7 separate regions of the Homo sapiens genome follow, and regions 2, 3, 4, 5, 6 and 7 are each linked to region 1. Evidence: promoter capture Hi-C in 16 types of primary human blood cells and fetal thymus (Javierre and others, 2016). All regions are on one chromosome and are shown on one strand. Each heading gives the region's core, a stretch centred on a gene start or on the middle of the fragment in contact. The rest is flanking DNA. Distances are from core to core; before and after follow the strand shown.

Region 1 (4,055 bases), core at 1-2,500:
CGTTAAATCATTACGTAGTATATGTAATTGTTATTAACCTCATCGTAAAAGGTGATGCTATGATTCATGTTGCAGACATTATTAACTGGAACAAATAGGCGACACTATTTGGTTCGTTCTTATTTTGCAAATGGGCGAATTGAGGCCCGCAGCCATAAGTGATTTGACGAAGACCACAGACTGATTCGGAGACAGGAGGCAAAATGACACAGGAATGATTCACAAGCCTCTGTCACAAGGGAGTTTTCTGCTTGTAACTTATCAGGGAGGCAAATTTTCTGAAATCATTTTTTCAAATCTCAGATCCATGACTTTTCTGTTGAGCAATGCTGCTGCTTCCTCTCAGCCTCCGCCCACCACCACCACTACCATGTTTAGATGTTGTATTTCATTTAAGGATTTTTCAGTTTTCCTTCCTCGCTGAAAAAGTGATACTGAAATACACTACGAAAACTTTTGTCCTCCCTCCAAAACAAATATCTTACCAGTCACAACTCCACCATTATAACAGAATTATCTTCATTTTTTACATAGTCTTTCTTTTTTGCCACAGTGACTTGTTTTTACATAGCTGAAGTCATAATGAGTAGGCTAGTTTATATTCAGACAATTTTATTTACCAATTATAAGGCGTTTTCCATTCTGTGCAATCATCATTTCAAGTATGTTTCTGATTAATACTTGTTAATTTTGGAATGTAATGTACATATATGGAAACTACTGAAGTTATTGAAGTTGTATGTACATACATTGAAACTACTGAAGAAAATCAGCAATAATTCAACCACCCTCGGAATAACTGATGGATTTCCCCAGCCTTCACATATATGCTTCTTATTTTAAGAATTGAAACTAATGCTGCATGAACAGGTTTCTATTTGCTCCCTGCCCCCTTCGTTTAAAAACAAGGTGGAGACTAAAGGCTCTCAGCCTCAGTTTCTCCATATGCAAAATATCAGGATTAAATAAGTCATGCTAAGGGCTGGAACAAAGTGAGGGCTCTGCAGCGTGTACGCCGGGCACTCAGCCGTGGATGGCAGGGGACGGCGTTCTGTCCCCGGGACGGAGCGCAGGCCTGTAATTGTCCCTCCCGCCTAGGCCATCACTTTCAGGCTTGGGTACGCGCCGCCGTCTGCTCCCCTGGGGCCGCCAGGGGGCGCTGTGGCCCCGGTGCGCGGCAGCCGCGCGACACGGGCCCTCCCTCGGAGTCTTCGGCACCGCCCTGTCCCAGCCTCCTTTGCGGGTAAACAGACATGGCCGGCGAAGGAGATCAGCAGGACGCTGCGCACAACATGGGCAACCACCTGCCGCTCCTGCCTGGTAACCGCCCGGAGTAGTTCCCTGTAGTCGGGAGTGGGGCGAGGCTCGGAGCCGCTAGCGGTGCAGCTGGGCCTGGGAGGCGGGCGTGGGGGCGCCAAGCCTGGCGAGCCAGCCCAGCAGGGCCGCACCGGAAAGCTGCTTCACGTCGGCCCTCGGCCAGCGATGGAGTCGCGGCGCTTTCTTCGCTGCTCTGTTGCCCCGAGCCGTGAGCCAGGGTGTCGGGGGGAGCATTTGCTATTAAGAACAGGAAACCCATCCTCTCCATCCTCCTTGTGTTCTGAGTTTAGCTCCTAGGAAATGCTCTGAAACTAGAGGACCGGGTCAGATTCACAGCGGTTACTTTTGCTGGTCTCCTTCCTTTTAATAAGAGTGACAGCTAACATGTACTAAGCACTTACCATGTTACGAGCCGTGCAGTTAACGCTTTGCATGCATGTCGCCTTTTAATCCTTCCCACATCAGTTTTCAGTTTCCGATTTGATAAGCGAGTATTGGATTTGCAGATTAGTTCAATGACTTGCCCAAGGTCACACAGCAGAGTCAGGATTCCAACCCGGGTGTGTCTGTCATTATATCTCTAAACCACTTCTCTGTTTTGTTTTTCTTACTATCGGTCTTTCTCAGGCATGTACGATTATGCTTAATCAGAGATACTTAGTTTTTCTTTTTCCTGTATGTTGTGTGAAATGTTTAGACTTTGGCCTTGTGTTGAAATACTGAACAAAAAAAAAAATGCATGGAATATTGCATAAACTTTTCATGGAATGCCTTTCAAGAGATGCTTTCCAAAAGGTGTATCATCCAAACTTGAAAGTATTACTTGAGTCCCTTCGTTATATGACAAGTATGTTAGGTGTTGTGGAGATGAAACGAGAGGTAATACACAATCTGATAATTGAGGTTTACTGTCTAGGCGGGGCTGCTGAGAATATAACTAAACGTAAATCAACTGCAGAGGCGGTTGATTTAGGGCCAGATAAATGAATGCTGTTGTGGCTCTTCAGAGGCAGAGGTTGTTTAAGGGTCAGAGGATTTGGGAAAAAGCCTTTCAGGTAGATCAGGAGACATCTAAAAGCACATATTTAGGATATGGTTGTGGGACATAAGGCCTAGGAGGTATATTGGGTCTAAGTTGCTGGGAAACTGGCATCTCTTGCCAGTGGGTTTGGGTTTTTCCTGTGGATTGCCAAGAAACAGTTTTAGGTTTCAGGTAATTGCCTAAAGAAATCTATGCTTGGAAGATTAATTTGTCCACTGGTAGCAGCATGGATTAAAAGAGGAAGAGACTGAGTGCGTGCCCACCATATAGGAGAGAACTTTTCTGTAAAAATAAACCATAGTCACTGGTTGTTCTCGAAGCCATTCTAGCTGAGTTGACACAAGGGTAAGTGTGCCAGCCTTTGATGGAAAGCTGAGCTATTTTTTCAGAGACATTAGCCCTACTCTCTGTGCCAAATCCGGTGTTTCAGGGAGAATGGTGAATAGAAGAGGGAGGATACTGATCTTCTGTCGACATTCACATCGTGCCTCTGCATGAGATGAGTCATCAGACTTCACTGATAGCTCTGAACAGTCAGCGTGGTTTTTTGTTTGTTTTTTTTTTGTTTGTTTTGTTTTGTTTTTTGTTTTTCAGAAAAGCGTCGGGAGAGGGCCCAGAGATGGTGTAGATATAGCAATAATGCCTCTCCAAATTACGTAAATTTTATTTGTAGGGAAACACTGGGCTTTCCATAATTCCATGTAGTACGAGTTGTTCTGAAGAGTAAATCCTCTAAGTTCCAACAAAAAGCTTTATATTTGAGATGTGAAGAGTTTATCCTAGGCAAATGAAACATTAATAAACATAACTGAGTAGGGGAAAGTGGTTTTTAGCCATATTTATGAAAAAAAGGTTACTAAAGAAATTATTTAGAGACTAGGAGTCAGAACAGTTAAAATGTAAATTTTTAACAATATTAATTCCAGCCTTTGAGCTAATAGTTTATCTTTTAAACTTTCTGTAGTAGAGCAATAAAGTGGGTTGTGCTGCATGCCAAGTGATAGCCATACTGTCAGAGTTGGAAATACAAACAATTTGATGCAGAATATTTTTGTCATCCATTTAGATAGCTCTTTTTTTATCTCAGTGAAACTTACATGTTCCAAGGAAAATTTGTATGAAGTGTTAGACCATTGGCTATTTACATATAAGTTGAAGTAATTCTGTTTTTGACAAAGTTTTATATCTAGGAAGTTGTAATAATAAATAGAAAGTCCAAGGCAGTTACCATATTGAAAATCATTTTTATTTTCTGTCAGGGGCCTGGCTAGAGGTGGTTTGACTTAAATAATGATATGCAAAGGAAAACAAATGATTATTTCGTAATGACATTTTATCGATTTAGAAGTTTATTTGGGGCATTTAAAAATACATGAACTGGGAGGTGAGAAATGAGATTCAGTAATTCTTTATTGTTAGTCTAGGCCAGGGTCTCCCAACCTCAGCACTGGACTTTTGGGCTGGAGAATTCTTTGGGTGGGATTGTCTCGTGCATTGTAGGATATTTAGCTGCATCCCTGGCCTCTACCCACTAGATGCCAGTAGGACTCCCTTAGTTATTGCAACCAATATCCCCTGAGGGGCAAAATCACCTGTGGTTGAGAGTCACTGGTCTAGGATAGGAAATTTACTCATAGTTTGTATGAAAAGGACAGACTCACAGTTAGTACAATAGCATATGTATTGTGTAGCGTTT
Region 2 (4,055 bases), core at 546-3,045, 1.9 Mb before region 1:
ATATACGATACAAAAACTGCAGCTGATTTTTTAAATTAAATTAAATACAAAAAAGATGTTTAATGGATTAAGATCTCCCAATCCACAGTTCTATGGTTCTAACCTCAGCTGGATCTAAAGAGGTGGGAAAAGTAGAAAGTACACTGGCCCCAGATTCTAATTCTATCTCTGCTACGAATTAGCTTTGTTGCCTTGGAATTCCACTTAACCTCACTGGATCTGCTAGCCACATCTAAAAAATGAGGGGAAAATTAGACTACTTAATCAAGGTTTCTACAAACTCTTTAAAAAATGATTCTAGGTTCATATTTCTACAGTCTTCCCAAATATCTTCTTTTCCTAATTCTCAGCAGTAATAAACTTTCCCTTGGATTAACCTTTCAGGTATCAACAATGTGCAAAAGTGTAGACAAATTTTTATACTTCCATTTAAAAAATACATAATGTCCATAAGATTTATCCTATATTATTTTGGCAAATCCTATTAGATATTTTTTAATAACTATAACATATCTAAAAGCCCCAGTTAAAAATAAAGATTACTCAATATACATTACACATATAGGCACATGACTTATTGTGCAATAACTGCCAGAACAGTTAGCAATGGAAAAAATACTTCATTCCTTGACACTAATCAGAAAAGACAAGACTAGGGTGTTTCTTTTTTATAATGTTCAAAACAAAAGAGAACACTACATATATCAAGTGTCTCTACATAAAACTGGATTAAATTAGGTATCATTTCAGTTTTAAAATCCTAAGGAAAGGCATTCTAAGTCTGAGCATTCTGTAACTAAGCTGCATTATCTTTTAGACTCAAACCAAACCCTACATATAATAGTAATTCAGTCTCATGAACCTTTTGAGTAAGTTAAATGACATCTATTAAATCTTCCTTAATGTTTAAGGCACATGTAGTGACATTTTAATGTTTACAAAATGTTGATTTTTACAAAAAGAAAATTGGCTTCAGCTGAAGCTTTTCATACCTGAGAAGTCGCTTCTTAAATGTGAATAAGTAAATGGTCACCTTTCTAGAGTGACACATAGTACTCAATACATCTGTATTTCTGATTCTATAAAGCAACTATTTTATATACAATACAAAAAGTGCAGCTGATTTTTTAAAAGGCTAAACTTACTATTTTGGACACATTGTTTCTACCTAAAAATCTCTAAAATCATCTTTAATCACTAACTTGGATTTTAATCACTACATCCTCAACATATTCTATAAGAATCAGGGGTTAGGTTAGAGCCTTGAGGTTAAAAAAAAAAAAAAGTATGAAATTCACTGAGGGGGTCCCTTTCAGCATCTTAAAAGCCACAGCCAATTACAGCCCAGATGTCTTTTTTCTTTTTTAAATTAATATTACTTTTAATTGACAAATCATAATTGTATACATTTATGGAGTACAATGAGATGTTCTGATACATGTTTACAGTGTGGAATGACTAATTCAAGCCAATTACACATCCATCACCTTATCTTTGTGACTTTTTTTTTCTTAACTGAAGCTACCCACACCATTACAATTTTAAAAAGAATAGTCTAATGATAACAGTGGGCTGGGCACAGTGGCTCACGCCTGTAATCCCAGCATTTTGGGAGACCAAGGCAGGCATATTACTTGAGACCAGGAGTTCGAGAACAGCCTGCCCAACATGGTGAAACCCCGTCTCTACTAAAAATACAAAAATTAGCTGGGCATGGTGGCAGTCGCCTGTAGTCCCAGCTACTCGGGAGGCTGAGGCACGAGAATAGCTTGAACCCAGGAGGCAGAGGTTGCAGTGAGCCAAGATCATGCCACTGCACTCCAGCCTGGGCAACACAGCGGGACTCCGTCTCAAAAAAAAAAAAAAGATAATGGTGGAGCCACTGGTTCACTTTGACTTCAACAGCTTTGCAGAAGTTTTGTTGTTGTTAAATATAATAATCTAATGGTGGGGGCGGGGCAGGGGGGAACACATGATGCGATTACTTTCCCCAATCCATAAATCCACTACTGCAGCCCACATCTGGATAGATACAGTGATTCAAAGTAGAAAATGATACCAGTTGAGTCCCTTCTCAGTATTTTTCAAGCCATCGTTCCTGCATTAAACAGGTACGCCCAATTACAAATAACAACAGTTACCATCTACCTATCCCCTTCTGTGGGCCAGTATGAGTGCTAGCCACTTAACATCTTTCATGTCATTTAATCCCTAGAGCAACTCTGTAAGAAACATATCATTACCTCCATTTAATAGATGGGAAAGTAAGGACTCAAAGAGGATGTAAGGCTGCTAAGCGGCAGAGCCAGATTTCAAATCCAGGGCTGTCTGACTTCAAAGGTCATGCTCATTAAGCTACACTGTCTACTGAAAACAGAAGCATAAAAATCACCAAGAAGTTTCTCAAAGATTTGCTCAACTTTTTAGAGTTCCCAAGCATAACAACTCAACTGCAACAAATACAACTGGCTGTATTAATACACCTATCCACATGAAACATTAATTCCATGTTGTCAAAGAGCAAGTTTTACAAGATGACTCCAATTCTCATCTCAAGGGGATATGAGAAAATTTACAGTTAACTGAGCTCAACTTCACTCAAGCTTATGCCTCATCTTTTCCATATTATATAAAAGCTCTAGCAGGCTTATAATCCCAGTATGCTGGGAGGCCAAGGCAGGAAGACTGCTTGAGGCCAGGAGCTCAAGACCAGCCCTGGCAACATAGCAAGAGCCCGTCTTTATAAAAAATAAAAATTAAAAATAAATAGCGAGCCATGGTGGTAGCACATGCCTGTAGTCCCAGCTACTTGGGAGGCTGAGACAGGGAAGATCACATAAGCCCAGGAGTTGGAGGCTGCAGTGAGCTACGACTGCACCACTGCACTCCAGTCTGGGTGAAAGCTCAAGACCCTGTCTCCAAAAAAGAAAAGAAAAAAATTCTAATATAAATATGTAACCCGAAGTTCATGTTTCCTCATTAATTTTAGTGGTATTAGGCCAGGAACGGTGGCTCATGCCTGTAATGCCAGCACTTTGGGAGGCCGAGGCAGGAGGCTCGCTTGAGCCCAGGAGTTCAAGGCTGGCCTGGCAACATAGGAAGATCTTGTCTCTACCAGAAAAAAAAAAAAAAAAAAAAAAAAAAAATTAGTGGTATTAGATACACATTCCACTCTTCTATTCCTGCGGAAAGATAGTCATTCCAAGCGCAAAAAATCATAATATTACAATAGGAGGCCAGGCGCGGTGGCTCACACCTGCAATCCCAGCATTTTAAGAGGCCGAGTCGGGCGGATCACATGAGGTCAGGAGTTTTGAGACTAGCCTGAGCAACAAAGCAAAACCCATCTCTACTAAAAGTAATTAGCCGGGCGTGGTGGAGGACGTCTGTAATCCCAGCTACGCAGGAGGTGGAGGCAGGAAAATCGCTTGAACCTGGGAGGTGGAGGTTGCAGTGAGCTGAGATCTCGCCACTGCACTCCAGCCTGGGGGACAAAGCGAGACTCCGTCTCAAGAAAAAAAATTAATAATAATACTACTAGAAAAGGAGCCGAACAACAAGCAGGTAAATCTTCCTTATATACATCATTCTTCAAAGGACTTTGGGGTTTCTGCTAATCTCTTTTTCTCCAAGACTTACTCATTCCTGTTGCTTTATTAGTGCAAGGACTAAGAATCACAAGTTACCTATTTTCTCAAACATGAAAGCTGTGTTTGAATCATCTTGTGTAACCTAACCAGTCGGACAGCTAATCTTCAGGATTTCAACAGTCATCGAAAAGGTGGAAGAACTGCTGCCATCTCTCTTCAGAACAGTTCTAAAACTCCCCTGGCGTGTACAAGCCACTACCAGCTAAAACTGAGTCACAACAACTCTTGGGCTCTAAATAAAGATCGAGGCGAAATCTTTCACTCCTATTTATTTCCCAACCAACCAAACAAGCAAAACGAAACAATCACCTTTCTACTCAATCATTGCTGAACAAACACCACATTCTATGTAAGTCCTCAGTGCAATTTTCCTTCCACCCATTCCCTAGGCCTGCTAAGCTATGT
Region 3 (4,055 bases), core at 397-2,896, 1.3 Mb before region 1:
GTGTGGTGGGGCAGGGGAGTGGGGGGCTATCCTGTGCACCATAGGATCTGTTCACAAAATGCCAGTAGCACCCCACCCCTGCCTGCCAGATAGAACAACCAAAAATATCTCCAGACGATACCAAATGTCCCCTGGAGGACACAAATCACTCTCCCTGTCCCCATTGAGACCACTGCTCTAGGACATAGATAGGTTTTGCTTTGTTTTTTTATCTGTAACGCCTTCTGCAAACATTTGTTTTTAGACAACTCGGCAGCAATGACCCGAAGCAGGTATTTTTATTTTTACACCTATTCTACAGAAGAGGAAACAGATGCACAGATGTTCCATGTTTTGCCCCTTACCCAAGAAGCAGTCAACACTCGGTACTGCGGAGTCCCCATCCTGTGGCTCACCAGGGCAATACCAATATGACCTGAAAGCAGCTTGGTTTCACTACCTGATTTTTCCACTCCCTTTTATGAATACTCAACAGTTTCCCAAGACAAATGTCCTGCAGAGATTTGTACTGAACAACACCTCAAAAGCTATCAAAAGGAAATGCTTAATATCTCTACATGGTCCTCACGTCACCCTCTGCAATAAAGGGCTTTTCTTTTTTTCTTTTTATTGAGATGGAGTCTCACTCTGCCCCCCAGGCTGGAGTGCAGTGGTGCGATCTCAGCTCACTGCAACCTCCACCTCCTGAATTCAAGCAATTCTCCTGCCTCAGCCTCCCAAGTAGCTGGGACTACAGGTGCCCACCATCATGCCCAGCTAATTTTTTTTGTAATTTTAGTAGAGATGGGGTTTCACCATGTTGGCCAGGCTGGTCTCAAACTCCTGACCTCAGGTGACCCACCCACCTTGGCATCCCAAAGTGCTAGGATTACAGGCGTGAGCCACGATGCCTGGCTGTAAGGCTTTTCAAAGAAAGATGCCAGTTCAAGAAATATTTAATCAGGAGAGGGGTACAGGGGCCAGGCGCAGTGGATCACGCCTGTAATCCCAGCACTTCGGGAGGCCAAGGTGGGCAGGTCATGAGGTCAAGAGATCGAGACAATCCTGGCCAACATGGTGAAATCCCATCTCTACTAAAAATATAAAAATTAGCTAGGCATGGTGGCACATGCCTGTAGACCCAGCTACTCAGGAGGCTGAGGCAGGAGAATCGCTTGAACCTGGCAGGCGGAGGTTGCAGTGAGCTGAGATCAGGCCACTGCACTCCAGCCTGGTGACAGAGCGAGATTCCTTCTCAAAAAAAAAAAAAGGAGAGAGGGGTACAAAAAATTAGTTTTTCCAAGCAGCCTTCAAAGGGAGAAAAAACATATATACAAATTACTTATTGTGTAAGCACTTCCTGTGTGCCAGGTATTCTTATGAGTTAAAAAAACACAAAAGGCCCAAAAGGAAAATAGGTTTTAGGGCCCTGGAGTTTCAAATGACAGATTTTCAAGTATCATAAAAAACTTCCCGGAGGAGGAAGCGTTTGGGCTGGGCCCTAAGGAATAGAAGGATCTGGCGAGGTGGACAGACGGGGGTGGGGAGGGACACATGAGGTACAACATACACACACACGACAAGGCAAACAAATGAATGTCCGTCGTCTGGGTGTCGTATCAGCTTTTTCTGTTCAGAAATATGTGCTTGGGATGCTTTTAAGCTGTTCTTGCAAAAGAAAATCATTTCCCAGACAAAGCTCCTTCTGAAATGCAAAAGAACAGCAAGAAACTTGGAGACTAGTGATATTTTTCTTATGTTCATCTTCTTCTGATAAGCCGCATTATATCAAGCCATCCAGAAGTTCTGCTGATGGGACAGGTCAGAAAGTATGATAAAACATAAGTTCCTCATTGTCCCATGACAGCAGGTGAACAGCAGTGACTTCACAACTCTAAGTAGGGGTACATGTGCCTTCTGGTCTCTTTCTGCCTTCATGTGAACAGCGAATAAAAGCTCCCCCAAATGTAAGCATCAAAGTTCCCATGTTTGTTGGAGAGGGAATCATGTGAAAACTACTTACTCTCACCTCAGGTTGGTGATTAGCCTACCTTTCCACTTCACTGAAAATAAGGCTGCAGGGGAAAAGTACAAAGGTCAGCTTCAGCCTGAACAGGTGAGAGCTAGCCATGAAAAAGCAAAGGAACCACTAAATGACAAGGACTGAAAAAGCACAGGGACAGGCATCCTCCAATGCATATCTTCTCGTATTTTCACGTGTGTGTGAATCACTTGAGGATCTTGCAAAAATGTAGGTTCTCATTCATTGAATGTGGAGTAGGGTCTGAGAGTCTGCAATTGCTAGCAAGTTCCCAGTTAATGTCAGTAACGCTGGTCTGGGGACCACACTTGGAGTGGCAAAGATGTAGTACAGTGTTTCTCAAACTTTTGACTGCAGCTCAGAGTAAGAAAACTATTGAACTTACAACCCAATGTTCATTGTGTATGTGAGACAAAGAATTTTGTTGCAACATACACAGTTCTTTTTAAGTATCCACGAAATACACTTCCATGTTTTCTATTCTAGTGCATGTCATTAAAAAAAAAAAAAGTTTGGCTGGGCCCGGTGACTCACACCTCCAGTCCCAGCACTTTGGGAGGCCAAGGCGAGAGGATCGTTTGAGCCTAGAAGTTCAAGGCCAACCTGGACAATACAGGGAGACCCAATCTCTACAAAAAAAAATTTTTTTTTTAAATTAGCCAGGAGTGGTGGGGCACGCTGGTGGTCCCAACTACTCAGGAGACCGAGGTGAGAGGATCGCTTGTGCCTGGGAGGTTGAGGCTGCAGTGAGCCAACATCATGTCACTGTACTCCAGCCTTGGCAACAGAGCAAGACCCTGTTTCAAAAACTAAAAATAAAAAGTTCATCAAGGCCCACTAAATTGATTTAACAACCTCTTAGTGGGTTTCCACAGAGTTTGAAAAACACGGATACAGAACAAGAGTAACATTCCTGCTCATCTGGGGAGAACAATGATGTCTTAGCCTCAGGACACTAAGGCTAAACCCAAAACCAATTTTTAAAAAAAGTTTAGATTATATTCAGAATTCTTTGCAAAAAGGCAAGGATAGGTCAATTGCATTTTGGAAATACTTTCACCTAGGAAATTCAAGTTTTAAGTTTTCTTCATTTTAATTTGTCTTCTCGTCTGTAAGATGAGGATGACAAGAGTACCTACTTGGCCCTAGGTGGAGATCTCTAAATACCATTTTGGCCAGGCATGATGGTCTCACGCCTGTAATCCCAACACTTTGGGAGGTCAAGGTGAGAACACTGCTTGAGCCTAGGTGTTTGAGAGCATCCTGGACAACATGGCGAGATCCCGTCCCTACAAAAAAACAAAAAAGATTAGCCAGGTGTGGTGGTGAATGCCCATAGTCCCAGCTACTCAGGAGGATTAGGTGAGAGGGTAGCTTGAGCCCAAGAGGCAGAAGTTGCAGTGAGCTGAAATCATGCCACTGCACTCCAGCCTGGGCAGCAGAGTAAGACTCTGTCTCAAAAAAACAAAACAAACAAAATTTCCCTCTTAAAAGAGCAAAGGCTCCTTGGAGAAAAGGCCGATTCTTGGTCTGGGATAAGAAATAGAGAAGATGAGCCTGGAACATCTTGTTATACAGAAATCAAAAAAGCTAGCAAAGACAACAAGGGCTGTGTCGAAATCTCAGGAACTTTACCAGCCCATTTCTCACTGACGAGAGAACTAATGGATTCAGGTAGTGAGCATCAAGGGGTGCTCATATAACAAGAGTAGACATCCAACATCTCACACCCACCTAAGCAAAGTTTACAGAGCAGACTTACTGGAGTCCCAGCTACTGGGAAGGCTGGCACAGGAAGACTGCTTGAGACCAGGAGTCCAAGGCCAGCCGAGGCAACATAGTGAGACCCCTTCTCAATTTAAAAAAGAAAAGAACCTAACTTTGATGAAGCCTCTACATCTAACTACCAAATTATGGTACCCCAAGGGGATACAGAAACATGTTAAACCACATTGCACTGATGCAGTCAGCAAAGTCTAAACTGTGGAGACGTGTATCACCCAGTTTCTTCGATAACAACAAAAAAAATGCATGG
Region 4 (4,055 bases), core at 795-3,294, 1.3 Mb before region 1:
ATAGGCTCCTGCCTTACCTTCATGGAGGTTATAGCCTAATGGTATAGCTGGACCAGGAATCAAAGAAGTTCAGGTCTCTGAAGCGCAGCTGACACAGCATGTGCTGAGACTGATATTTGAAGGAGGCGAACAAAGATTACCGTTGACCTAGACCTTGACTATATATTATGCACAGTAAATACATACAACCTTGGTTAAGGCATTGACCTTTTAGCTTCATCAATTTTGAAATGAGTATAGTAATAATACATTTCTTGCCAAGTGGTTGTAATCTCAAATGAGAAAATGTGTGAAAGGCCTTGGCAAACTGTAAAATAGTCAACAAGGAGAAAAGGCCTTTTTTTTTTTTTTGAGAGATGGTCTCACTTTGTCACCCAGGCTGGAGTGCAGTGGCACAATCATGGCTCACTGCAGCCTCTGCCTACCAGGCTCAAGTGATCCTCCTGCCTCAGCCTCCGAAGTAGCCAGGACCACCGGTGTGCGTCACCATGGCCAGTTAATTTTCTTAATTTTTTGTAGAGACAAGGTCTTGCTGTGTTGCCCAGGCTGGTCTCAAGCTCCTGGCCTCTAGCGATTCTCCTGCCTCGGCCTCCTAAAGTGCTGGGATTACAGGCTTGAGACACGGTGCCTGGCTGGTCTTTTCTTTATGCTAAAAAAATTCAAACAGATGCTACATTAGAATAGTGCAATAAACACCCAGATGCCCATCAACCAGCTATGACAGTTATCAACTCATGGCCAATCATGCTTCATCTTTAGCCAGACCCTGATTACCCATTTTTTGGGAAGCAAATCTTTGACTGCCTATATTTTTATCCATATATATATATGTGTGTGTGTGTGTGTGTGTGTGTGTATACCTCAGTGAGTGTGTGTGTACCTCAGTGAGGGGATTCTTTTAAAAAATATAGCCACAAATACCATTATTACTCCTAAAAGCCTAAAAACAAAATTTACAGCAATTCCTTAATTTTATCAAATATTATAATTTGACTTAGTGGTTAAATTTCCCTGATTATCTCAAAAATTTTGAACTCAGTAGGTTTGAATTAGTATTTAGATAAGGTTCACATATTGCAGCTGGCTGCTATGTTTTTTTTTTTTTTTTTTTTTTCAGATGGAGTCTTGCTCTGTCCCCAGGCTGGAGTGCGGTGGCGCCATCTCGGCTCACTGCAAGCTCCACCTCCCGGATTCATGCCATTCTCCTGCCTCAGCCTCCCGAGTAGCTGGGACTACAGGCGCGTGCCACCACGCCGGGCTAATTTTTTGTATTTTTTAGTAGAGATGGGGTTTCACCGTGTTAGCCAGGATGGTCTCGATCTCCTGACCTCGTGATCCACCCGCCTCGGCCTCCCAAAGTGCTGGGATTACAGGCTTGAGCCACCGCGCCCGGCCTGCTATGTTGTTTTTTAATCTGTAAGTTTCTCCTTCATCTTCTTTTTGTTTTGGTTTTGCATTTTGTTCGATTACGGAACTGTAGAACAGTGGTTCTTAAACTTAAGTGTGGATTAGAATCATCTGGAGAGCTTGTGAAACCCTGGATTGCTGTGTCCAGTCCCCACGGATTCTGATTCCGTATTGTATTTCTCTTTTTTTTTTGAGACGGAGTCTTGCTCTGTCGCCGAGGCTGGAGTGCAGTGGCGGGATCTGGGCTCACTGAAACCTCCGCCTCCCAGGTTCAAACGATTCTCCTGCCTTGGCCTCCCGACTAGCTGGGACTACAAGCGCGCCATTACTGGGTCTTTGTGAGGATTAAATGAGATTTTAAAAAGTGAAGTGCTTAGCATAGTACTCTGGCACTTACCAAATGCCCAGCAAATTTGACTGTTATTTTTCAACCAAGAAATCATAAAGGGGTGCACGGTCTGTGGAAGGCCTTGAGTTTTGTGGAGTTTTGTGTTTTGCTGCGTTTTGACGTTAGCACAGGCAAGCAGCAGCGCCAAAGAAGTACCTGAAGAAAGGTGAAGAGCAACTCTCCTGGTCACTTCGTAAGTCAGCTCAAAATTCTGCCCCTTTAAGGAGGGCTCAGCCACGTGACCAACCGGGTCACATGGCCCGCGGGACAACATGGCTGCGCCCGCACTAGGGCTGGTGTGTGGACGTTGCCCTGAGCTGGGTCTCGTCCTCTTGCTGCTGCTGCTCTCGCTGCTGTGTGGAGCGGCAGGGAGCCAGGAGGCCGGGACCGGTGCGGGCGCGGGGTCCCTTGCGGGTTCTTGCGGCTGCGGCACGCCCCAGCGGCCTGGCGCCCATGGCAGTTCGGCAGCCGCTCACCGATACTCGCGGGAGGCTAACGCTCCGGGCCCCGTACCCGGAGAGCGGCAACTCGCGCACTCAAAGGTGCTCCATCGATTCCTCCGAGGCGGGTGGGGGCTGCTCGGTTCCTGGACGGGGTTGGAGTAGGCAAAGCAAGGCACTAGTAGGAAGGGAAGTAAAGGTTATAACCACACCCCAAATCGAGCACCTGCTGTTCCCGTATGAGGAGTTCCTTCTCCGTGCCTCACCGGAAGACTCCATTTAATTGACCATTAGGGAGTTTGGTTTGAGGGTTATTGTTACTTCTTTACCCCCTATTTCTTTCTCCCTCCAACCTGTTCTCTTAATGAGGATCTCATAATTTTAAGGCAATCAAATTATGGTTTAAATCACCATTTCCTCTCTTATTAACGGAATAAATTAGGATCCTGGGTCTCAGTATCTTCACCAGGGTTGTTGTATACTTATCTGTAGTCTCCTCGAGTACACTCTGCTTGAGGACAAGGGCTTGAATTGTTTATCCTGCTATTCTTAGCACTTTAGCACTTAGGAAGGGCTAAGCAAACTGTAGTTGTTTTATTGCTATTATTTATCTGTCTTGCTTAGCGCCTGTATGTGTTAGGTGCCGGGATATATAAATAACTTACTGGCCGGGCGCGGTGGCTCACATGCCTGTAATCCCAGCACTTTGGGAGGCCGAAGCGCGCGGATCACGAGGTCAGGAGTTCGAGACCAGCCTGGCCAACATGGCGAAACCCCGTCTCTACTAAAAATACAAAAATTAGCCGGGCGTGGTGGCGGGCGCCTGTAATCCCAGCTACTCGGGAGGCTGAGGCAGGAGAATTGCTGGAACCCGGGAGGCGGAGGTTGCAGTGAGCCGAGATCTTGCCACTGCACTCCAGCCTGGGCGACAGGGCGAGACTCCGTCTCGAAAAAAAAAAAGAAAGAAAGAAATAACTGTTACTTCAATCTGTCTGCCCGGTATTTTGCATATTGATGTGTTGTCGAAACAACTTATGGGTCTAAAGGTCAGGTCTTCTGACTCCTAAACTAGTGCTCCTTCTTGTTTACTTAGCAGACACTATCCTTTTCCCATTCCATTTTTCTTTCCTTTGGGTTAATCCTGACCAATATTTAGGACTTAGGTGAGAGGTAACATCCACAGTAGGTTTTACCTGATCTCCTCTTTCTCTCCCCTTCAATATTTCCGTATCCTGCCTCAGTAGTTATGTGTTTATTCTGACATAACAATTATTAAAGATGTTTTTCTGCTGATGTCTCTCCCCAACTGGACTGTGAGGGTGATGGGGTCAGGACCATGATTTAGTCTCTCAGGTGTAGAGTGTAGGAGGTTGATACCTGGGCTTCTCATTGTTTTTCCATCCTGTATAATTTTTGGCCTTTACTTTTTTTCCTGTTACCCTTAGAGCATGTCCTGCAGTACTGTTTATCTTTTGTGTGTTGAAGACTCCTGATTACTGTTTTAGTGTGTATTGGCCATACTTGATATTAATTCCTCTCTAACTTGCCTGGTAATTGATAATCAATCTCTCTTTCTTTTTTCTTTTCTTTTTTTTTTTTTTAGACGGAGTCTCGCTCTGTCACCAGGCTGGAGTGCAGTGGCGCGATCTCCGCTCACTGCAATCTCCACCTCCTGGGTTCGAATGATTCTCCTTCCTGCCTCAGCCTCCCAAGTAGCTGGGATTACAGGCACACGCCACCATACCCAGCTAATTTTTGTATTTTTAATAGAGATGGGGTTTCACCATGTTGGCCCGGATGGTCTCAATCTCCTGACCTTG
Region 5 (4,055 bases), core at 781-3,280, 1.1 Mb before region 1:
CTTTCTTCCTTTCTCCCCCTATCTTTCTCTGTGGGGTATGAGACTTCATGACATCTTAGAAATGAGCCTTCCTAGCCATGTGGATACTAGCCTTCTAGGAATAAATCATTCTAGTGATGATTTATTTTCTTCTACAGTACTTTCTTTGAAATATTTTGAAGAACAGGGGTGATATGGTTTGGCTGTGTCCCTACCCAAATCTCATTTTGAATTTTAGCACCCACAATTCCCATTTGTCATGGGAGGGACCTGGTGGGAGGTAATTGAATTATGGGGCTGGGTCTTTTCCATGCTGATCTTGTGATAGTCAATAAGTTTCATGAGATCTGATGGTTTTGTAAGGGAGAGTTTTCCTGCACAAACTCTTTCTTGTCTGCTGCTGTGTAAGGTGTGCCTTTCACCTTTCAACATGATTGTGAAGCCTTCCCAGCCAAGTGAAATTGTGAGTCCATTAAACCTCTTTTTCTTTATAAATTACCCAGTTTTGGGTATGTCTTTATCAGCAGCATGAAAATGGGATAATACAGGGGGGAAATGTAAAAGAAAAATAGAATTGCAGGGCCCCCAAACTCACTATGCCAAAGGCAAAGTTGAGCTTGGGAAATTAACTTGGTAATCGATCAATACTGTATTTCTTTTGAGCCCAAACAGATAACTGTAATTTCACAACCCCATGTCAGCCTTATTTCCTCTACTCCCTCTTTTCACATGTTTACTTCATCTGATGTAAAAATGTAGATTTACTGAGCATGAGACAATGCATAATCGACTTTTTCCTCTCCTCCCACTTTTCACATGTAAAATGTAGATTTAGTGAAGCTAATCAGAGCCTCACAAGAATCTAACCATCTACCTCACTGCTCATGCTCACTCCCACCTCTTTTTGTCCCCTCTCCTGCTTACGTTTTCCCCTTTAAATATTCAAGTTCACGAAATCCTCTTTAGAAAACTCATAGGTCACAGATGCTCTTGTGATTTATGGTTTTCCTTGGCACATCCTCAACCTTGGCAAAATAAACCTCTCATTGATTGAGACCTGCCTCAGTCACTTTTTGGTCTATATTATAAAAAAGATTTTCACATAGTTGGTATTCTATTAACAATGATACCAAATGAGGCCATCTTTCTTCAGTCAGTGTAGGTCTTTGACATTTTTTTTTTAATTAATTTCAATTTGAGAAAGCGTCACTCTGCTGAGACAGAGTTGAAAACAAACCATGAAATGTATGTATCATGTTCAAACATTCTAATGGGGCCACATTTGGTAAATTATTATTGCAGAAAACAAAAAATCTTAATTTCATCACATAAGCTATCACTTATGCTGTCTTTTTCATCATCTGCTAAATCTATACAGTAATATAAAGAACCAGTATCAAATTTCTAGACTTACACGTACACAGATTTAAAAGTAATAGGAATTGGAATTCTAAGTAATAGGAATTGAAAACTGTACATTGTTATTCATGAATCTGTTACATTTATGCTGAGAGGAAGAGCTGTCAGGTTAATTAATCTATCTCTTATCTATCTGACTGAGCACTTCTGTCCACATTCTCCCTGCACCCCAAAGCTGTGTCACTCTCTGATGGTGGTAATGGCCCAACCCAGAGCATTAGGCACAGTTATGTTTTGTTTTTGAGGACAGAAAGTAAGTGGAGTAGCATTTTCCTGGGGCCTAAAGCATTCTTCCCAGAAACAAATGTTCAGAGTCACAAGTTACCAGTTTCTAAACCAGAGGTACCAGGTGGTTGTTGTCCTCCTCCTCATTCTTCTGCTGCTCCTCCTTCTCTTTCTCCTCTTCCTTCCTTTTCTTCTTTTTCTTATAATATCTTTAAGGAGATACAATTCACATACCATAAAATCCACCTAATTAAAATGCTTTTTAGTGTAGTCACAAGTTGTGCAACCATCACAACTAATTCTAGAATGTTGCATTACCCCCAAAAGAAACCATGTACTTGTTGGTGTTAGCAGTCAATCCCTATACTCCTTCCTGCTCCCGGCCCTGGCAACCACTAATCTACTTTGTATCTGTATGGAGTTGCCTATTCCAGATAGTTCATGTAAACAGAATACCACAAATGTGACCTGTTGTGTCCGGTTTCTGTCACTTAACATAATGTTTTCAAGGGTCATCCATATCAAGGGCATTTTTTGGTATTTCATTCCTTTTTATGGAATGGCCAAATAATATTATGACCAAACAATATTCCATTGCATGGATACTACATGTTGTTTATTCATCCATCAGCTAATGGATATTTGGGTTGTGCCTACTTTTTTTTGCTATTATGAATAACGTTATATGAATATTTGTGCATACTTTTATGGCTAAATAATATTTCACTGTATGGATACTATATTTTGTTTATTCATTCATCGGCTAATGAATATTTGGGTTGTGTCCACTTTTTTGTTGTTATGAATAATGCTATATGAACATTTGTGCATACTTTTTTTTAAGACAGCATCTTGCTGTGTCATCCAGGCTGGATGTGCATACACTTTTTGTAGACATGTTTTCAATTCTATTGGATCCATGCCAGGGGAGTTACTGGGACATGTGGTAATTGTATGTGAGCTTTGAGAAACTGCCAAACTGCTTTAGAGTAGTTGCACAATTTTGCAACCAACCAACCAATATATGAGGCTTCCACTTTCTCCACATCCTTGTCAATGCTTATAATTGTCTGTCTTTTTTCTTTCTTTTTTTTTTTTTATAGGCAGGTCTCCCTCTTTCACCCAGGCTGAAGTGCAGTGGTAGGATCATAGCTCACTGCAGCCTTGAGCTCCTAGGGTCAAGGGATCCTCCTGCTTCAGACCCCTAAGTAGCTTGGACTGAAGGCATGCAGGCATGCACCACCATTTCTGGCATTGGCACATTTTCATTTACCGTAGACTTTCATGGAATAGTTTTAGATTTTCATAAAAATTGAGAAGATAATACAGAAAGGTCCTATATATCCCATAGCCAGTTTCCCCTATTACTAACATTAGTTATGGTACATTTATATTACATTATTATACATATCAATATATATTATTATGTATTGATACATACCTATGATATTATACATATCATTACATTATGATACATTTGTTACAATTAAGAACCAATATTGATACATCATTAACTAAAGACCATAGTTGATTCAGATTTTTAGTTTTACCTGTCTGTTTTGGTTCTAGTATCTCATCCAGGACACCACATTACAGTTACATATCATGTCTTCTTTGACTCCTCTTGGTTGTGACAATTTCTTAGACTTTTCTTGTTTTCCAAGACCTTGAGGAATAATGTTCAAGTATTTTGTAGATGACCCTGTATTTAAATTTATCTGATTCTTTTCCTCATGATTAGTCTTGGGTTATGGGTTTGGGGAGCAAGACCACAGAGTTAATGTACCATCTTTATCACATCCTGTCAATGGCATATACTACCAACATGATTTATGACTGTTCATATTGACCTTGATCACCTAGCTGAGGTCATTTGTCAAGTTTCCCCAGAGTAAAGTTACTCTGCTCCCCTCCCTTTCCTCCACCCTCAACTTTCCATTCTACACTCTTTGGGAGGAAGTCACTATGTATAGCTTACACTAAAGGAGTAGGAATTTATGGTCCCCCTTTTCGTGGGCAGAAATAGCTACATAAGTTATTTAGAATTCTTATGCAAAGTTAGATTTGTCTTTACCCCATTTATTTATTGATTCAATCATTTATTTATATCAGTATGGACTCAGATTTTTATATTTTGTTTTATAATCCAGTACTACTTTATTTATTATCTTGCTCAAATTATTCCAGATTTGGTCACTGGGAGCTTTTACAATTTGTTTCTATACTCCTTTGACACCCCCATCAATGTAGGTTTCTTTCTTTTTCTTTTTTTTTTTTTTTTTTTTTTTAGCATTTCCTTACTTTCTGGCACTACAAGATGCTCCAGTCTCAGCTTGTTGATTTCCTTCTTTAGTAGCAGAATTAGCCATTTCTCCAAAGAACCCTGTTTTTTTGTTGTTGGAGAATGGTATAAAAATCAAGATCTGGGTGCT
Region 6 (4,055 bases), core at 765-3,264, 1.1 Mb before region 1:
CCCTTCTTCCTTTTGGAATTCAGGAAAAGCCAGCCAGCATCAACATCAACACACACCTTAAGTCTGATAAGAAACATTTACAATCTGTTCTCTGAAATTTACCTCTTGGAGGCTTCATCTCCACGATCAAATTTGGTATCCACAACCTCTTATTGCAACCCAGACATTCGTTTCTATTGATTTTAGGTCTTTAGATAATAACCAGTTGCCAATCAGAAAATCTTTAAATCTACCTATGACCTGGAAGCCACCCCTCACCCGCTTCTCGTTGTCTGCCTTTCCAGATCCAACCAATCTTACATGTATTGATTGATGTATTATGTCTCCCTAAAATGTGTGAGAGTAAGCTGTATCCCAACCACCTTGGGCACATGTCATCAGGACTGCCTGAGGCTATGTTGGGGGCGCATTCTTAAGCTTGGGAAAATAAACTTTCTAAATTGAGACCTGTCTCAGATAATTTTGGGTTCACAAACCCTTCTGACCTTGCAGCTTCTGAGGTCCCATTGGCCTAAATGTGTTTCCATCTTGCAGACCTTTCCTTGTTAGTATCCTCTTGTTGTTTTCCTGCCTGACTGTTTCTGAAAAGTGGGTGTGATTCAGGGTTCTGCCCTTGACCTTTTTCTTTGCTCCCCTTCCCTGAACTTTCTCATTAATAACATCCACTCCCATGGCTTCAAATATAAAGGATTAGGTCACCAGTCTCCAACCCAGATCAGACGTTTCTCCTCAAATCCAGTTACGCATATTCAGCTAATGATTGAGCATTTCTGTTTTCTGTCCTACAGGCTCCTCAAACTCAAAATAATCTGAATTGACTTCTTCTGCCAGTCTTGCTTTTTCTTCTTTAAAGTTAACTGGGAAAATAATTTGTGATCTACAGAGCCACTAAAGCAACAAACCAGTTACTCTGTATTCCTTCACTTCACTAGACTCATATAGCTAAGGACGTGGTGGGTAAGTCTTGTTGATTCTGCCTTCATGTTCTCATTTTTGCCTCTTCTCACTTAGTCCTAGGCTCTCTCATTTCTTGCTTGGACTTTGGAAGTTCTTTGCTTTAAGTCTGTCATTCTCCATATCCCCAAATCACCCTTACTGCCGCTGCTACAATGACCTTTGAAGATCCTTGTCCAGTTATTATATTTTGCTGCTTAGATTCTTATTTGCTCCATTTTCTCTCAAAGTTTACCTTCTATATTCTGTCTTATGAGCCTTTGAGGACCCAGACTTTACCTATTTCCTTGGTCTCTTTTGCTGCTGTTCTCTGTTGGAACCCCTTGTTCTGTTGACATTCCCTCAAAAAGCCATTCTACTTGGGCCTCTGGGCCTTTGTCCACATTGTTCTTGTATCTCCAGTGCCTTTACCCAGGACTGTCTGTCTGCTCAGCTCAAGTAGTCCCTTCTCTGTATCTTTCTTTACCCTGTTTCCCTTAGCATTGGTTACCCTCTTTACATTAGTTCTCCTACTTTATAAGCCATTTCTTATGTTCCCTGCAACTATTTAATGTAAGCACAGGCAAAACCATCTTATTGAACTCATAAAAATTATATATATATATATTGGTGGAGGGTGGGGAGATAGATAGATAGAGAAACATTTTGTTTTAACTTAAATGATTTTGGTACATTTATATGCTAGTCTTTTGATGTAGGGCCAAAAGAGAAGGAGAGCTAGAGTGTGTGTGTGTGTGTGTCTCTGTATGTTTGTTTTCTACTGATTAGAGCTCCAGGTCAAGCTTACTCTGAGTTCCAGTTTTGGTGTCTTTAAAGTGGGGTGGGAACTAAAGGATAGTGAAGCAATGGGATATCATGATCTGTTTTCTTTCCCTAGTCTTTTATACTTTTCTCACTCACACCCACTTCAAGGGCAAAACATTTTTTAGTGACTTGCTTTTTTTTCTCCAAGTCTTTACAGAATGTTCTACTTAGTTATCCCAGAAGGGAGAAACTCTTTGCACTCATAGTTCATCATCCTTTTTTCATAAAATTATAATAACAGTTATACCTGGCATTAATAGGTTTGAGAACAGAAATTAAAGATCAGCCTTATAAATGTGCTATTCATGAGCATGTATAAAATCACATAATTTTGCACTGCAGTACACATCTGATATAAAAACTTTTTTGAGTACACATCTGATATAAAAACTTTCTTGTGTTGCTGTAAAGAAATACTTGAGGCTAGGTAATTTATAAAGAAAAGAGGTTTAATTGGCTCATGGCTCTGCAGGCTGTACAGGTAGTATGGTGCTGGCATTTGTTCGGTTCCTGGGCAGGCCTCAGGAAGCTTTGAGTCATAGTAGAAGGTGAAGAGGAAGCAGGCATCTCACATGGTCAAAGCAGGAGCAGTGAGAGAGAGTGGGGGTTGGGGCAGGTGCCACACACACTTTTAAATGACCGGATCTTGTGAGAATTAACTCACTGTTGTGATGACAGCACCGAGGGGATGGTGCTTTAGCACCCATGGGTTTAATGAGAAACCCGCCCCCATGATCCAGTCTTCTCCTACTATGCCCCACCTCCAACACTGGGGATTAGATTTCAACATGAGGCTTGGATGAGGACAAATATCCAAATTATATCAATAGGGAATTGATTCTATGTAGAAAAGAATCAAAATGTAAGAGTTAGGGGCACAGTATCTGAAATCAGCCATGACTAAATTTATATTCCTACTCTGCAAATTTCTGACCATGGGAAATAATAGCTAACATTTATTGACTTATTATGTACCAGATACTGTTTTTTTATTTTTTATTTTTTGAGGTGGAGTCTCACTCTGTCACCCAGGCTGGAGTGCAGTGGCGCCATCCTGGCTCACTGCAACCTCCACCTCTTGGGTTCAAGCAGTCTTCCTGCCTCAGCCTCTTGAGGAGCTGGGATTACAGGTGTGTGCCACCACACCCAGCTACTTTTTTGTATTTTTAGTAGAGCTGGGGTTTCACCGAATTGACCATACTGGTCTCAAACTCCTGACCTCAAGTGATCCACCCATCTCCACCTCCCAAAGTGCTGAGATTACAGGCATAAGCGACGACATCTGGCCCAGATATTGTTTAAACATTTGATATGTATAAATTCATTAATACCCATAATATGGTACTTGAAACATCTACCACAGGGTCATTTCAGGTTCAACTAAACATTCGGGTTCACAGGACTGTCACTGGCCACACTTGGCATTAGCTTCACTTGAGATTATAGGACAAGAGCCAAAGCCTACCAGCAGAGAGGCCTCAGGTGTACCCCTTCTGTGGGAATAGTGCTTGCAGTCCACACAGCAGGTCACAGAGCTGCCTGGGAGCTGTTTGTTCTCCCAGAGGGTGGCTCAAATGCAAGGAGAATATATCCCATTAATAGGGTGTGGGGGAATCCTGAATTAGAAGCCTTGCCTCTCAGAAGCTATAGATTTTAAGGTAGCTGCCTAGTAAATATTTTATCAGATATAGTTGTGTACCTATCCTTCCTTAAAAGAAGAGATAGTCATGTATATGATACAATTAGCTGCTTATAGTATAATTAAGAAACATAAGAAGGTTTAGGTAAAGTGCTATGGATCTTTAGAACTGGTAAAGATTACTTTTAGCAGGGGAGATCATGAATGATGGATAGGATTTAGGCATTCCAGGTGGAAGGAACAGGAGAAGCAAAGTAATAAAAAGAAAGATGTGGATAGGAAAGAGTAATTTCAGATTGGCTGGAGATAAGGTTTGTTTCACCCTTCAGGAATTTTGAATAGTATGGGAATTTCTCAGATATTCAGAGAACATGCTGTTCATTCATTTTAAGAAAAGTTTGACCACTGATTACATGCATGGTCCAGTTTACCAATTAGGGGAATGTATACATGAAGAAGACATGGTACCCTAGAAAAGCTTGCAGTGTAACAGACAAATAACTATATACTTACAGAATGTGATAGAAATTGTAAGAATGTTGTGAGAAAAGAATTATAAGAGCCATGAGGAGAACCACACTCCTATATTTGCTGTTATGCCATTTTTAGTTTTTGACTCTTTCTTGGTAATACTGTCTGCTATTTGGAAAATTTTTTT
Region 7 (4,055 bases), core at 715-3,214, 1.1 Mb before region 1:
AATTCCTTTTCACAAGGTTTTCTGTGCTTCATTGTTGCCTCTAGAAGTTGAAAGTGGGGGTGGTTTTCTTCAAGAGATTGGAACGAAAAGGAACAAACTTGTAGCAGGTTTGCAAGCCTTCTCTCCTTAGCTATTTCTCTATCTCTAAGAGTCTAAAGATCCTCAAGGGAGAGGCACCAAATGCAGGTCATCAATTCCATTCAGGTCCACAGTCTGAGCTCCTAAAATGGCATAATATGCAGTCTGAAAAAGAGAGGCAGTCATCTAATTCATTTTGTTCTCAGAGTAGAGAAGTGTAGTACATGATTACAGATTGAGCCTTTAGGAGAGCAATAAAAATAGCTCTGACAGCCATTTCCAATAAAAAAATAATTTTTCACTGAGCAGAGTAGTCAATCAATGAAGACATTTTTGGAGTTCTTGTTTGGTAGTATGTTTGGAGATATTAAGTCTCCAAAGGCAGTCATGGGAGAAAGGAACATGTGATTGACGCAGGACAAAAACAAGATACCTTCTTTTAAGAGAGTGTTTTATGACTTTTAAGTTTCAAAATAAGATTTTCTTTTAAAATCTTTCTCTAAATAAGAATTGACTGAGCAACAGTTCTCCCACTTTCCACTCTTGCGCTGGTATCGTTATTTTCACTGAAAGTGCCATTTAGTGTAAAAGGGTTGAAATTGTAATAACTGTGGTCTAAGAGCCATTCATGTTACCATAAGGATTTTTCCCCACTCGCAGTACCAAGTAGTTACTTCTTTGCTCTGATAAGGCAAGAATTAGGGAGTACAGAAATTGTAGAAGGTATGTGTGAATTGATTTTTATTCTAACTAATTATTGTAGAAATTAAGAAGAGCAGTGTATTAACTCCACATCCTTTCCCTCTGTATATTTCTTCCCTTTAAAAGGCAAAATTCAAAATTCTTAGTACTGTATTTTATTAGCAACCAGGTATTTCTTCTGGTAAAACTGCAATAAAGCTTTTTCCCTTGTATTCATCTGAATGTGATTTCTTTCTGCAGCTGGATAAGTACATTGATTTTATGTTTCATGGAGATTAGACGTTTAACAAAATGATAATAGGGATTACTGATTCTAATTTTTCCTACATTGTTACTGGATTTAACTGTCTTTTCAACCCACACAGAGTCTTTAAAGATGTTTTCTCTTTGCTCTAGACAACATTAAATGTATCACGATAATGACAAATCAGTCATGTTAAATAAAATTAAGGTTGTAAGTTTTTACCAAAAGACTTAAGCCAGCTTCTAAATACCTATACAATCTTCTTCATTCTGGCTTGTCTTTGCTATTTTACTGAATTTGTCTTTCTTTCTGAAATCTTTTTTGTTGTTTTTTTGAAGAGGAAGTATGTTCACATGGATTAAAAACTCAAAAGAATATAAAAATATGTGTTAAGGAGTCTCATTTCCACTCCTGTTCCCACTTTTCTTCTTCTTTCTGTACTCCTTCCACTCTACCCTCCAGGTAATAACTTTTATTGGTTTATTGTAAACTCTTCCAATTGTTTCATGTAAATACATATATTTATTTTCCTTTCCCCCTGTTTTTTCCCCCAAAAGTTTGTTTAATATGTAAATTATTCTAAACCTTTCTAATTGTTACTTCTTCTAATTATTTTCTCTCATCCCTGAACTGTAAACATCTCTCTGAGATTTTTTGGCTTTTTTGGTCAGGCAAGTCTCAGAGCGCTGGTTCTGCTACTTATTAAGTGTGTGGCCTTGGATTAAACTTGAGAATCTCAGTTACTTTACCTGTAAAAATGGAATTATCAATATCTATGGCATAGGATTGTTATGAGGACTAAATGAGGTAACTTACAGCTAGTAGCCAATGTGGATGATCAATATATCTCAGTTACTCTTTCCTTTTCTCTGGCTTTTTCTCTCTCTCTCACAGTGAAATCAACCCTCTCCACCATCCCTTCCCTGAATCAAAGCTATAATAACATCACAAAGAGTCTCCTTGTCTGTAATATAGCTCCTGTACATCTCTTCTTCACAGTGCAAGTAGAGTGGTCTTTCTGTGGCTTGTATCAGCTGCACAGAGGAGCTCCGTCAAAGGGCATGTTATACTCTTCACCATGCTCTTCTTATCTGTGCAGTTTCATTGTATATGGTTTTCTCCTCGCCCAGAAGTCCCAGTCCCTGCTTTTCCATTTGACAAGCTGTTATGGATTGATTTGTGGCCCCCCGACCCCCACTGTTACCCCACTCAAAGATGTTGAAGTCCTAACTCCTAGTACTTGTGAATGTGACCTTATTTGGAAATAGGGTCTTTGCAGGTGATCAGGTTAAGATGAAATTATTAGGATGGGCCCTAATCCAACATGACTGTGCCCTTATCAAAAAAAGAAGTTTGGACACAGAACACACACACACACACACACACACACACACACACACACACACACACACACACACACACGGTGAATGCCATTTGAAGATTGGAGTTATACTGCCATAATCCAAGGAACTACCAGACACTAGGAGGGAGGCCTGGAACAGGCTCTTCTCTAGCCACCCTCAGAGGGAACAGAGCCCAGCACGCACCTTGATGTTGGACTTCTAACCTCCAGAATAGTTAGACGGTAAATTTCTGTTGTTTAAACTTCTCAGTTTGTGGCGTGTTGTTAGGACAGCCCCAGGAAACTGATACGCAAACCTTTTAAATTTTCATCTCAAAGCTACCTTCTCTATAAAGCCTTCCTCTCACATAAGGGGTTCCTGCCTCTGTGTTTTTTTTTTCCTCTATTAGATTATCTGGCTTTATAAAAAAAATTTTAAGTCAAGGTACTTCAAGTTCAGTACCTCTAGACCGTGAGCTACTTGAAGAGAGCCATTGCACTTTTCATCTTTGAATTCCCAGTGGTCCACAACATACAGTATGCACCAAGCAAACCTAAGTTAAATGGAGTAGGCTAAAGCTTTTTAGGACCCCGGGGTGTTCTTGATTACATCTTTGGTTACATTTGTAGTGCATTTATAAAATGCCTCTTGGAATTTTTTAAAACATTTTAATTTTTAATTGACAAAAATTCTATATATTATGTACAACATGATGCTTTAAGATATGTATACATTGTGGAATGGCTTAAGAGAACTAATTAACATCTGTACTACCTCACATAACATCTTTTTTGTGTGTGGTAAGAACACTTAAAATCTACTGTCTTAGTGGTTTTCAAAACTGGAATTGTTGTCTTCTTACAGATGGCTAGTGTCATCTCTTATGTATATGTTTTTACTAAAGTTGAGTCACATCCTTTAAAGAATACAGCTTTAAGGATTCTTTAAAGTTAGCTTGACTATATAGCCAAAATTAAATTTAAAAATCTTTAAAAAGTGTCTCATAAGATATAGTACATGCAGTTTTTTGGTGTGTATGCCATCTGGTACACTAATTTTTATGCATCCTAAAGTTGATAATTTTAGGAAATGGGTTCCCTAAATAAAGCCAGGAACTGGGAAAAAGTGGTTCCATTTAAAAAATTATCTTCCAGCCTGCTGAGGTGGCATATGTAACTTGGTTCGTATTATGAGTCTCTTGTCAGAGTATAAACACAACATGGCTTTATTTTTTTTTTGCATTTATTGCTTCCAGCTCTGCTGTGATGAACCTTCACCTCCCACAGAGAATGCATTCCCAGCTCAATGGCATCTCCTCAGATTGGTTCTCATATAAGTTGGATCATAGCGCCTACTATTTGTAACTTGCTTCTCTACTTTCCAGTATATCTTGGAGAGAGTTGTGAATCAGCACACACTAAGCTACCTCATTCTTCATGGCTTTATACTATTTTGTTGTATGATTGTGTGTCATAATGTATTTAATTGTTGATGGGCATGCAGGCTGTTTTCATTCTTTTAGCTAGTAAAAACCCATATATGACTTCTTAGAGGCCCTTGATTGTTTTGTTTCTACATTGTGAGATTATAAATTGACAATAAAAGGTTAAAGGTATTTACATGATTTTCTTCACATATCTGACTTTTAATGAACTATTTTAGGTTACCATGACTTTCATATAGTACTT

The links. The method cuts DNA at HindIII sites, captures the fragments that hold promoters and counts their contacts. A CHiCAGO score of 5 or more calls a contact.
Region 2: a contact is called between a fragment that was not itself captured here and the fragment with the promoter of CRBN in region 1, in 3 of 17 cell types (non-activated CD4 T cells, total CD4 T cells and naive CD4 T cells). The highest score is 6.4, in non-activated CD4 T cells.
Region 3: a fragment that was not itself captured here is called in contact with the fragment with the promoter of CRBN in region 1 in 1 of 17 cell types (total CD8 T cells); the score reaches 6.7 in total CD8 T cells.
Region 4: the fragment with the promoter of SUMF1 here is called in contact with the fragment with the promoter of CRBN in region 1 in 3 of 17 cell types (erythroblasts, naive CD8 T cells and total CD4 T cells); the score reaches 7.7 in erythroblasts.
Region 5: a fragment that was not itself captured here is called in contact with the fragment with the promoter of CRBN in region 1 in 5 of 17 cell types (M2 macrophages, naive B cells, monocytes and 2 more); the score reaches 7.9 in M2 macrophages.
Region 6: a fragment that was not itself captured here is called in contact with the fragment with the promoter of CRBN in region 1 in 16 of 17 cell types (total B cells, naive B cells, total CD8 T cells and 13 more); the score reaches 33.6 in total B cells.
Region 7: a fragment that was not itself captured here is called in contact with the fragment with the promoter of CRBN in region 1 in 15 of 17 cell types (M0 macrophages, total B cells, M2 macrophages and 12 more); the score reaches 21.1 in M0 macrophages.

Annotation. Positions count from the first base shown.
Region 1 is chr3:3,176,886-3,180,940 of GRCh38, reverse strand. CRBN (cereblon) reads left to right here and starts at 1,250. Exons shown (of 11, transcript NM_016302.4): 1 at 1,250-1,320. The coding sequence starts at 1,254. RefSeq lists a silencer at 1,017-1,186. The HindIII fragment of the contact is 7,719 bases long and covers 1-3,111 here.
Region 2 is chr3:5,123,348-5,127,402 of GRCh38, reverse strand. The region is part of intron 1 of ARL8B (ARF like GTPase 8B); the gene reads right to left. LOC124906212 (a long non-coding RNA gene) reads right to left here. Exons shown (of 2, transcript XR_007095800.1): 1 at 3,687-4,055. Among named protein-coding and RNA genes, the nearest start is that of ARL8B, 3.1 kb to the right of the region's middle. RefSeq lists a silencer at 1,365-1,659. The HindIII fragment of the contact is 1,621 bases long and covers 985-2,605 here.
Region 3 is chr3:4,499,641-4,503,695 of GRCh38, reverse strand. The region is part of intron 2 of ITPR1 (inositol 1,4,5-trisphosphate receptor type 1); the gene reads right to left. Among named protein-coding and RNA genes, the nearest start is that of ITPR1, 8.3 kb to the right of the region's middle. RefSeq lists an enhancer at 496-585. The HindIII fragment of the contact is 6,282 bases long and covers 1-4,055 here.
Region 4 is chr3:4,465,258-4,469,312 of GRCh38, reverse strand. SUMF1 (sulfatase modifying factor 1) reads left to right here and starts at 2,044. Exons shown (of 9, transcript NM_182760.4): 1 at 2,044-2,337. The coding sequence starts at 2,068. It overlaps LOC124909340 (a long non-coding RNA gene), which reads right to left and starts at 2,489. Exons shown (of 2, transcript XR_007095789.1): 1 at 1,805-2,489; 2 at 1-649. RefSeq lists an enhancer at 1,818-1,997 and a silencer at 2,168-2,347. The HindIII fragment of the contact is 8,038 bases long and covers 1-4,055 here.
Region 5 is chr3:4,321,327-4,325,381 of GRCh38, reverse strand. It overlaps a transcript of SUMF1 not described here. Among named protein-coding and RNA genes, the nearest start is that of SETMAR, 20 kb to the right of the region's middle. The HindIII fragment of the contact is 5,965 bases long and covers 1-4,055 here.
Region 6 is chr3:4,298,518-4,302,572 of GRCh38, reverse strand. It overlaps a transcript of SUMF1 not described here. Among named protein-coding and RNA genes, the nearest start is that of SETMAR, 2.8 kb to the left of the region's middle. The HindIII fragment of the contact is 551 bases long and covers 1,739-2,289 here.
Region 7 is chr3:4,279,206-4,283,260 of GRCh38, reverse strand. It overlaps a transcript of SUMF1 not described here. Among named protein-coding and RNA genes, the nearest start is that of SETMAR, 22 kb to the left of the region's middle. The HindIII fragment of the contact is 1,967 bases long and covers 981-2,947 here.